Linked DNA regions of Homo sapiens: all the other regions are linked to region 3. The links are contacts of gene promoters, found by promoter capture Hi-C in blood cells and fetal thymus (Javierre and others, 2016). All regions are on one chromosome and are shown on one strand. The core of a region is centred on a gene start or on the middle of the fragment in contact, and the rest is flanking DNA. Distances in the headings are between cores, read along the strand shown. Region 1 holds the start of PSMA5 (proteasome 20S subunit alpha 5). Region 2 overlaps SYPL2 (synaptophysin like 2). Region 3 holds the start of STRIP1 (striatin interacting protein 1).

Region 1 (3,642 bases), core at 656-3,155, 610 kb before region 3:
CAAGGCAGGTGGACCACGAGGTCAGGAGTTCAAGACCAGCCTGGCCAAGATGAGGAAACCCTGTCTCTACTAAAAACACAAAAATTAGCCGGGCGTGGTGGCACCGCCTGTAATCCCAGCTACTCAGGACGCTGAGTCAGAGAATTGCTTAAACCCAGGCGGCAGGCCAGGCGCGGTGGCTCACTCCTGTAATCCCAGCACTTTGGGAGGCCAAGGCAGGTGGATCACGAGGTCAAAAGATCGAGACCATCCTGGCCAACATGGTGAAACCCTGTCTCTACTAAAAATACAAAAATTAGCTGGGAGTGGTGGCGCGCGCCTGTAGTCCCAGCTACTCGGGAGGCTGAGGCAGGAGAATCGCTTGAACCCAGGAGGCGGAGGTTGCAGTGAGCCGAGATCATGCCACTGCACTGCAGCCTGGCGACAGAGCGAGACTCCGTCTCAAAAACAAACAAAACCCAGGAGGGGGAGGTTGCAGTGAGCCAAGATCACGTCACTGCACTCCAGCCTGGGCCACAGAGCGAGACTGTCTCAAAAGAGTCTCCTATATGCGAGCAAGGAGCTTGATTTTGTCCATTGCTGTAGCACCAGCACCTAGAACAGTGCCTTGTTCACAGCAAGCACTCAAGCACATTAACTAAGAGAATAAAAAGGGATGTATTTTAGGCCGTCTTGGGAAGACAGAAAAATAAGTAACAAAGCAGTCAATACATATGTTAAGTAAATGGCCACAAAATTTAATAAATGCCTTCTGATAAGCATAACAATTTCTATCATACACACCCTAACTCAAAATTATGTCACCCGAAGATGATTCTCTTCAATGTTCTGGAAGTTAAATATCGACCAACAAAGTCACTTTATAGGACAGTGGGGAAATATGTCAAAACTTCACACACATCTTCTACGAGTCAGTAAAAAAGATGAAAAAGTGGTAACTGCAGGTGGTAAAACTTCGACAGGATCAGCATATACTTGACAGGAAATGCAGCATCTCATACCACTCAGTACAAAGAAAATGTCTGCCTTCCCTGACTTTAAAAAAGAGTAGCTATGTAAAAACTTAACTGACGAAAACAGAAACTGAAAGTAAAAATGTCTACAGCATATATATGTACAACTTAATATTGTGAACATTTTCATACCACAAAAGTTTTTTAAAACTTGCTTTAAACTTTTAAAAAGTCAGAAAAAATTTTGGTCAATTGGAATCGGCATGATGAGAAATCTCTTGAAAACCATTCTAAATTCCAGTTCCTATAAAATCAGACTCCAGACAATATATCCAGCCAAAGCTACGACTGCCTTCGCGCTTCTGAAGAAACTATACACCGCAGCATGCCCTACTACAAACCAGTTGCTTTTTCTTCCAGGAAGCACGTTTAACTTTTTGTTTGTTTGTTCAAGGCAGTCATACTAGGCACGAAAAGATGAACGGAGCAAAGAGTGACCCTTGGCCTTCTCCGGGTTCAAGGTAGGAGTTCCGGCTCCTCACGCCTTCTTTACCAAGCACCAGCCGGAGCTTCTCGCTTCCGCACCGAGTTAGGACCCAGGGGTGACTCAGCGGTAGGACAAGTGCCGCCGATGTGGTCTAGCTTGGGGAAGGACGGCGGGCGCCTGAGGAGGGCATAACATCCCCAGGTCCGGCCAGTCTCGGGTTCCTGGGGAGCCCCATGACACGGCAGAACCCAGGCCGCGCGGCCAGGTCCCGGGCCTGCCCACCCATAATTCCCACCCGACGTCCCCCAGCTGCACGGACCTGTCGTACTCAGACCGGGTAAGAAACATGGCGAGGGTAGGAGGAGGCAGCGGCTACGCGGGGATTCTGAGGACCAACACGACTCCACCGGCACCCAACTCACCGGCAGCCAACTCACCCACACGGCCGCAGTACTAAGGACCAACTGCGCGTGCGACCGCGACCTCTTTAGCCCGCCCTCCTGTGCCTGCTTCCTATTGGCTGGTAGTAGTTCCCGCCTAGGTGATTGGGCCAACGCGCTTCCTCACGAGGGCTTGGTTGGTCCGGAGGAGGAGGAGGACCAGGGAGGTACTTCCGCCTTAAATCGCGGGTGGTTGCTAGGGACGATAGGCACCCAAGGCGTGTAGTGAGTTCGCCTTGTAGAGAAGATGTGAGCCCGCCCCAAGACTGGCAATTGGAAAGGCTTGCATGCAGAGCTGGGTTGTCTGAACCCTGACATAATAGGTCCCTCGCCGGCTCCCGTAATCCCAGCTAGAGGACTTTGGTCCCGTTTCCGGCAAGGCCACCACCTGACTTCTCTTCGCAGGATTCCCTCTCTTAGGGTTCCTCCACGGTGTTCTCCATGCCCGGTCGAGGGCTCCAGGACTTTGGGCGGTAATGAGTCGGCTACAGTGGGTCTGAGCCGGCGCCGCGGACGAGTCCCTTCGTTTCAGCCAGTTTGGCTCGTTTATTGAGAAAAGTGGGGGGCGAGGGGTTAGTATGTAAGAAAGTCTTAAAGTTTCCACATGGTTAAGGTAATTTTATCAACTCTTTCTTGCACCCCTCCCCCTAGTACAGGTTTCAGACCTAAATAACCTAGAGTTCAGGATCCAGACTTCAAAATATTCACTGCTTTTTCTGTTGTTTGTGAAAAATAAGTGTTTTCTTTGAGCCCAGATCGTGCTATTGCACTCCAGCCTGGGCAACAGCCAAACCCTATCCGAAAAAAAAAAAAAAAAAAAAAGCGCTTTCTTTTTCGACGCTTCTTGCTTCCCTTCAATAAGTTGCTTGAGGAGCAACTTTGCAGCTTCGTAATAACACTGTAATTCAAGTATTTGTTCAAGAAAGGCAAGTAAGAAGTCTTGGCACGGGGGTGGGGAATATAGGGAAATGTTGGTCAAATGATACAAAGTTTCAGTCAGAGAAGGTGGATGAGTTCTATAGTTAATAATCATATATTGTGTACTTGAAATTGTGAAGAGGGTACACCTTAAATGTTCTCACCACAGGAAAGTATGTGAGATGATGGATTATGTTGATTAGCTTCATTTAATTATTTGCAGTGTGTGTGTGTATATATATGTATATCAAAACGTCACGTTGTATACCATAAACATGAACAATTTCTATTTGTCACTTACACCTTAAAGCTGGAGTCGGGGGAAAGAAATCATTTATCAGGCAGTATATGCTGGAAAGGGAAATGCCAGCATCTCATTTCCAGTTGTTAATGTGATACCACTAGTCAAGTCCTTAACCTCTCAAGGCCTGTATCTCTCCAGTAAAGTTCATTCTTGGTCCTAGATTAGGTTTGTAAGTCACCAAGGCATTTCAAAGGTGCAGGAAATGTAAAAATAAGCCTTTTGAGTATTAACCAAGATTAGTTTTCCCCACCCTTTATTTTCTGACTTCCTTCATGGATTCAGTAGGAGTTTAGTTTGGTCATCCCTGGCCAATCAGATGTTTAGCACTAATAAAACTGAGGAAGAACTCCAAGTAGCAATCCTCTGGGATCTGTTAGATTTCTGAGAAAAGAATGGTAATTTTTAGCTTTCTTGTCAGCTTTCTGACAAGCTTTTTTTTTTTTTCACCTTATCAGTTATTTTCTATGGAAAAGTCTTGGTCGTAAATTCACTACAGCTGCTCTTTAGAAGTTCTTTTATGGCCAGGCACAGGGGCTCACG
Region 2 (3,532 bases), core at 968-3,467, 560 kb before region 3:
TGGCAGGTCACACCAGCTCATACAGAAAGAGCCAATGCAGTTTGGGATGGAGGCTTACAGGAACCTGGACAAGCTGGACAGGTCTCTCTGACCCTCAGTAGCCTCCTCTCTGCCTTGAAGGTAGGGAAGCTTATTAGTACTTACATCCTAAAGAGTTGATGTGGGATCCTCAGCCAGTACGACCAGGATACAAGTGGGCACACCTTGACAGGGAGGTAGAAGTGATCTCTTTTCTGGGTATTTGAGAGCTTAGGAAGTAGGGAGCCCAGGTGTTCAGGGGAAAATGGGGATGAGGCTCACCTTTTCAGAAATTTCTAGTATCAGCACCCAAGTTATATTAACTGTCTCATATATAATAGGCTGTGTTTTTCTCTTTAATTTGTCCACTGTCTCATTGGAAAGCCCAATAAAGCCTGAGAATGGGTGATTCCAACCTTATCTTGGCCACTCTGGGCCTGCACTTTCCAGAGGCAGAATGAAGCTGATCTGCCTAGTGGTTTGGCTACCAGAAAGAGAAGAACTACATATATTGCAGTTGTGACCTAAAGGGCCCTGGAGACACTTGGGAATACATGGTCACCATGTCTGGGCAGGGTAGATGAGTGGGGTGGGTTGGGGAGCAGCTGAGGGGAAGGTAGAGTTTTACTGGAAATTTCGGGGGAGTTCCCATCTTAACTGCAAGGTTCCTTCCAGAAACTTGCCTCCTTACATGACCCCTTTCTTGGCTCTGTAAGAGTCCCCTGCTGAGAACTAGCACAGGACTACTTCTGGGCCAGGGAGAGAGAGGATTGCCTGAGCTCAGGATGGCCTCCCCTGCCACCTGCAGGTTGCACCGGATCCAATATGAGATGCCCCTCTGCGATGAAGAGTCCAGCTCCAAGACCATGCACCTCATGGGGGACTTCTCTGCACCCGCCGAGTTCTTCGTGACCCTTGGCATCTTTTCCTTCTTCTATACCATGGCTGCCCTAGTTATCTACCTGCGCTTCCACAACCTCTACACAGAGAACAAACGCTTCCCGCTGGTGGTGAGTCAGCACAGGCCAGAAGGAATGGGGTGGAGAAACAGATGTTTGTGAGGGGGTTGAGGTCAGAACTGGAGCAGAGGACAAGCATGGCGGCTTCCACCCCCATGGTGGAACCTCTGCCTCCATCAACCTCCCGTTGCTTGCTCCTGTTCACAGGAGGCACAATAGCACCATACACAAGCAGGCTCTGGAGTTAGACTGCCTGGGTTCAGATCCCAGCATGGCCCCTTACTTGCTGTGTGATCTCGGACAAGTTAAATAACCTCTCTAAATCGCAGTTTCCTTAACTATAAAATGGGGATAAAATAATACCTGCTTCATAGTTTTGTGTGTGTATGTGAAAAAATGAGAATGCATGTATCTAGTACATAGTTAGTCTCAATAAGCATTAGCGATTATTAATATTATTCCTCTTTACTCTCTTCCTATCCCAGGCATGCAAGGCGGAAGGGGTGCCTTAAGGGACCCCATTTGCGTCCTGCAGTCTGCCACTTGTATCTGAGCAATGGTGATCAAAGAAAAAGCTGGGAGGGAAGAGTGGGGAATTTAGGCTCCACTTGGGATGAGTGGGTTTTGGGGTGAGGCTGACCAACGATGCCTTGGTACACTGTTGCCAGATCTTAGATCTGAGGGCATTAGCAGGGCTAGCCTGAGTGGCAGGACTCCTTTGGGGGCAGTGAACAGATGCCTCAGGACCACCTGGGTTCTAGGTGTTGGGTAGGATGGGAAGAGGCAACTGTCCTGGCACCCTGGGATTGCCAGTATCATGGCAAGTGGAAAAGAAGCAAGGGAATCATGGGGCCTTTCTGAGTGTATTTCCCATCCCTCTGCTCCTCCCAGGACTTCTGTGTGACTGTCTCCTTCACCTTCTTCTGGCTGGTAGCTGCAGCTGCCTGGGGCAAGGGCCTGACCGATGTCAAGGGGGCCACACGACCATCCAGCTTGACAGCAGCCATGTCAGTGTGCCATGGAGAGGAAGCAGTGTGCAGTGCCGGGGCCACGCCCTCTATGGGCCTGGCCAACATCTCCGTGGTGAGACCTGTGGCCACTGCAGGAAGCAGCACCAGCCCTGCTGCCCAGGCCTGTCCCAGCTAGCAGGTCCTGAAAGGAAAGAGAGGGTGTCCCAGAGCTGGTGTCCCCTGCACCTGGAGCTGGTGCCCTCACTGCGCTTCATGCTGGCTGCTGGCTCCTGGCTGACCCTGAGAGGACATTTTGGGATGAGGGGAACCCAAAAGCCACTTAGCCTTCTGTTCCTTCCTCCTTCTGCACTCTGCCTCCAATTCCCTTCTCATTTCCCCACCTCTAGGCACGCTCTCTGTGATGTCTCCCCTCCTCCTGCCTGTTCTACACAATGTGTGTGAACACATAAAGGGGAGCCTGGGGCTGTGGCTGAGCTTGAAGCTGCGAGCAGACCCAGCATGAGTGGGAAGGGGCTTACTGTCACTCAGCCCTCCAGCCTGGAAAGGGGCTTTGGAGCAGTAGTGGGTCTGCTGGATGCATATGGATTTGGCCATCCCAGTTGTTAGAATGTTGAAATATGTCCATATCCATTGGTAAAGAGCTGAGGTCTTGAGCTTCTCAAATGCTGCCCGTCATCCCAGCCACCTCAGCCCTGCTCTGAAAATGACTTGTTCCCACATCTGAAATGTTTAATGGCTGGCACACCAGGAACACACGTCTGGAACTTGCTGGAACCCTGCTTATGGTTCCCCCCCAAAAAAATTTTATTGTAGAAATGTTCACAGGTACAACAAAGTTGAAAGAATTTTACAGTGAATACCCATGCACTCACCACCTAGACTGTGCCATTAACTTTTTACTAGACTTGCTTTATCACATATTTATTCACTTCTTCATCCATCAATCCGTCTTGTTTTTAGTGCATTTCAAAGATAATTTGGGACATCAGTACACTTCCCTCTAAGTACTTCCTGCTGTGAGGTTTTTAAAATATGTTGAATAACTATTTGAACATAGCCCTGGCTAGGTGCCTGATCACAGGGAAGGAGCACCTTGGACAGCTCCTGCCACACCTACCTGGCGGAAGGTGCTCCGAACAGGGCCTCACGCGTGCTGTGGGAGGCGCCCCAGGGCTGACTTTTGCTTGGCTCCTTGCTATGCTTTGCACGATGCTCCTCTAAAGGGTCAGATTCTGCTAGTGACCAAGCTACAGCTTGGGTGCATGGTGTGGACAGAATTAGACACTTTCACCTGGGATTCCCCTAAACAGTTGATGGTCCTGAGCCCTGCCTCTATACCGAGCTCTCTGTCTTAGTCTTTCTAGTCCTCTGTGCTTCTTCCCTGCACAAGCCCCAACCCCAACTGCAATAGGAACTCCCCCTCCCTGTTCCCACAATGACCCCCTGACTATTCTCACAAATTCCCCTGATGTCTTTGCAGCTCTTTGGCTTTATCAACTTCTTCCTGTGGGCCGGGAACTGTTGGTTTGTGTTCAAGGAGACCCCGTGGCATGGACAGGGCCAGGGCCAGGACCAGGACCAGGA
Region 3 (3,517 bases), core at 109-2,608:
TTTTGTTACTTCTGACAAAGATTCTCTTCTTTGGCCAAAACTCTAGTCAGGCTCCTGTGAGTCCTCTGCCTACTAGGACTAACCGTTTGGGCTTCCTTTCTGTCCTTGTTGAATCCAGTTTGTGCAGGGACTCTCCACTCTTGGCGTCTTAATCCATTTTTTGTTGCTATAACAGAATACAAAACACTGGGTAATTCATAAAGGAAAGAAAGTTATTTTTTGCAGTTCTGGAGTCTGGGGAGCCCAAAGTCGAGGGGTTGCATTTGGTGAGGGCTTTCTTAAACTGCATGGTAGAGAGCCTCTCACGGTGAGAAAGCAAGAGCATGTGTGCCAGCTCAGATCACTCTTCCTCTTCTTATAAAGCCACCAGTCCCATCACAGGGGCCCTACCCTGACGATTTTATCTAATCCTAATCACCCCCTCAAGGCTCCACCTCCAAATACCATCAACATATGAACTTTAGGATTGAGTTTCCAACGTATGGAATTTGGGGGACACAGTCAAACCATAGCACTCGGTATCTGACCACCCTCAACATCTTAGCACCCTGTCCTGCTTTCAGCAATAATCCTGTTAGGTCAGTTTAGCAAGAAACTTCTTATCCTTGATGTTTCTCTTAGTAGTTTTCCGTCCACTGACCCTCATCCTGCTCTTTGGTTATAAATCCCCACTATATCTTGTTGGAGTCAGAGTTGAGTCTAATTCCTCTTCTTCACTGCAAGATCTGGTTGTAGTGGTCCCTGTAACTATCACCATGGGCTCTCTTACATAAAGTCTGCCTTACCATCTTTAATTAGTGCCATGAACAAATTTTCCTTTAACACTTTTCAGCATTTATTTCTCTATATTTGTCTATTGTTTGTCTGACCCACCAAGCACTGTTATGTACCGTGACTGCAGACACTTGTTCCTCATTTTATCCCACTGCTTGGTGCACAGGAGACATTTATTAAATGTTTGTTGAATGAATGAATGACAAGCACTTGTCACAACGGTAACTCTGTGAAGACTAGGATCCTATCCATTTTGTTCATTACAAAATTCCGCCTAAGCCTTGAACAAGGCTATGAGTTATAAGTGCAAAGCGATTTAGAGGAAGGAGGGGTAACTAAACTGACTGAAGAAGCTAAGGGAAGCCTCACAGATAAAATTACATCTAAACTGAAACTGAAAGGAAGGTGGAAAACTAAAAAGATCAACAAGGGAAGGACTGCAGACAGAATATCGCGAGGTATTGGTCAGCCAAGATGGCTTCTAACACTGGCCGCCACACTTAATATGGCGGCCAGGGAAATTTCCTGGAGAAAATCACGCGAGAGTTGCATCACGGCGGCTGTGCGCGAGTTAAGCTGGGGGTGTGGAGCAGCCAAGATGGAGCCGGCAGTCGGCGGTCCGGGCCCACTGATCGTGAACAACAAACAGCCCCAGCCCCCGCCACCTCCGCCGCCGGCAGCCGCACAGCCACCACCCGGGGCACCGCGGGCCGCCGCGGGCCTCCTGCCTGGGGGCAAAGCCCGCGAGTTCAACCGCAACCAGCGCAAAGACTCAGAGGTCAGGAGCTTCGGGGGGCGAGGCTCGCACCGGGTCGGGCGGCGCCGGGGGTCCCGGGCCCGGGGCCACTCTAGGGGCCAGGTTGGGCTTCCCGGAGGGCTCGGTAGAGTCCGGCCGAGAACTGTCACTATACAGCGAAAGGAGCAGGAAGCGAGGCTGGCAGCTCCTGGGGTCTGGAGCATGAGTCCTTGCTCTAGCTCCGCCGCCCGGGAGAGCTTCCCGTGGCCGGCGACTGCTGGTTTGCTCCCCTGGGCCCCGACTGTGGGCGTGGCCTCGAGGCCCTAGCCCCTGGGGAAGCCGCTCTCGCCCCAGCTCGGGGGTGAGGAGTCGGGGGTCTTGGTGCACTCCAGGGCGCTGGGCTGCCGCGCCCCCAACCTAATCATCTCGGGCGTCTGTCCCTGGCACGCGGGCTCCAGCTCCTGGGTCCTGCCGCTCGCAGAGGAAGGCGCGTGTGGGCAGGGAAGGCGCCGGCGAGGATCTGGAAGGAACTTAGAGCCGGACCGAGCTAATTATCATTGAGAGTAGAGTAGGAGGGGGAAACATGTCCTGTTCTTCTGACCTGAGCCAGATCAGGCCATGGGTTAACAGTACCTGTGGTGGGCTATTGTGCCCAGTGCGCCTGATACTGAACTGTTAAAGATGAGAAATAGACATTTTAAGCATGCGTTAGGACCCAACATTCCTTCCTGTCTCGCTAGTGAGCCGTTCCTGCCGTTCTGGAGATGGCATAGTCTGGAACTGACTAGTAACCTCACCCCAAGTTAAGGAATTCCTCCCACTGCCTCCTTTTGCAGAATTCATGAATGAAGATACTCATGTCGCGGAGTTTTAGGGCTTCTTAATGAGCAGGTTCCCAGAGCACTTACTATGCCATCTCCTAGATTGATCAGCAGCCAAACTGATCAGCCAAGTTAATGAGAGGGAATTCCTAGTTGTCCAAGCATAATGTACCAATTCATACCAAAGAGCAATGATACTACCTTTAGACCTGTGGAATCAGTTCCTCAGAAGCTTTTATTTTTTGTTAGCAAGGCTAAACCCCTGAGAAAACATGTCAACAATTGGCAAGCCCGAAGTAGACGTAATTTGAGCTTGGAGTGAATTATTTGAAAAAAACAAAAACACTGACCATTTAGGAGCCCTGGCATGGTGGGATGACGGACATCAGTGTTAACTACTCAGTTTTTCAAGTGGAAGATTACGAAAGTGCAGGGGGGTGAACCTACCTTCATCATGAGAGGAGTTATCATTTTGAAAAATGGTTTAAAATTTTCCAGAGTAGCTACGAATGGTCAAATAGATACCCTCTGACGAATTGTAATTTCTCTTTGTACCCTTTAATTTCCACATAGAGGCCGGGTGCAGTGGCTCACGCCTGTAATCCCAGCACTTGGGGAGGCCGAGGCGGGCGGATCACCTGAGGTCAGGAGTTCCTGTCCAGCCTGGCCAATGTGATCAAACCCTGTCTCTACTAAAAATACAAAAATTAGCCGGGCGTGGTGGCTGGTGCCTGTAATCCCAGCTACTCAGGAGCCTGAGACAGGAGAATTGCTTGAACCTGGGAGGTGGAGATTTGCAGTGAGCCGAGATTGCACCATTGCACTCCAGCCTGGGTGACAAGAGCGAAACTCTCCCCGTCTCAAAAAAAAAAATTTCCTCATAGACTCATTACATGAAAGACCAGTCAAATGGACACATTTAAGCAGAGACCTGTCTAAATCCATTTCTTTATAGAGAGTCTGATGCCATGATCTTTCTTTAGTCATAGCTGAAATCGGTAGTTTGGGAGCCTGATCAGTGAATGCCTGGAGGACAGGGAGGCTCACATTTGATGAGAGCCCACTATGTACTACATAATTTTGATTAGTCCTTAAAAATCTTCAAAGTAGATTTTCATCATTGCCATTCAATGAATGAAGAAACCGAAGCTCAGTAACTTGTGAAAGTGTACACTGTGTTATCTCT

The links. Contacts are between HindIII fragments. The CHiCAGO score rates a contact against its expected background, and 5 or more counts as called.
Region 1: the fragment with the promoter of PSMA5 here is called in contact with the fragment with the promoter of STRIP1 in region 3 in 4 of 17 cell types (non-activated CD4 T cells, total CD8 T cells, activated CD4 T cells and 1 more); the score reaches 6.6 in non-activated CD4 T cells.
Region 2: a contact is called between a fragment that was not itself captured here and the fragment with the promoter of STRIP1 in region 3, in 1 of 17 cell types (monocytes). The highest score is 5.1, in monocytes.

Annotation. Positions count from the first base shown.
Region 1 is chr1:109,424,543-109,428,184 of GRCh38, forward strand. It overlaps PSMA5 (proteasome 20S subunit alpha 5), which reads right to left and starts at 1,906. Exons shown (of 9, transcript NM_002790.4): 1 at 1,760-1,906. The coding sequence starts at 1,788. RefSeq lists enhancers at 1,969-2,900, 2,407-2,466. The HindIII fragment of the contact is 5,034 bases long and covers 1-3,530 here.
Region 2 is chr1:109,475,950-109,479,481 of GRCh38, forward strand. It overlaps SYPL2 (synaptophysin like 2), which reads left to right. Exons shown (of 6, transcript NM_001040709.2): 4 at 827-1,028; 5 at 1,869-2,060; 6 at 3,429-3,532. Among named protein-coding and RNA genes, the nearest start is that of ATXN7L2, 6.2 kb to the right of the region's middle. RefSeq lists an enhancer at 1,584-2,103. The HindIII fragment of the contact is 4,180 bases long and covers 128-3,532 here.
Region 3 is chr1:110,033,266-110,036,782 of GRCh38, forward strand. It overlaps STRIP1 (striatin interacting protein 1), which reads left to right and starts at 1,359. Exons shown (of 21, transcript NM_033088.4): 1 at 1,359-1,552. The coding sequence starts at 1,373. LOC105378895 (a long non-coding RNA gene) reads right to left here and starts at 2,174. Exons shown (of 3, transcript XR_947693.3): 1 at 2,144-2,174; 2 at 84-166. RefSeq lists an enhancer at 1,034-1,423 and silencers at 1,424-1,643, 1,884-1,953. The HindIII fragment of the contact is 6,759 bases long and covers 1-2,561 here.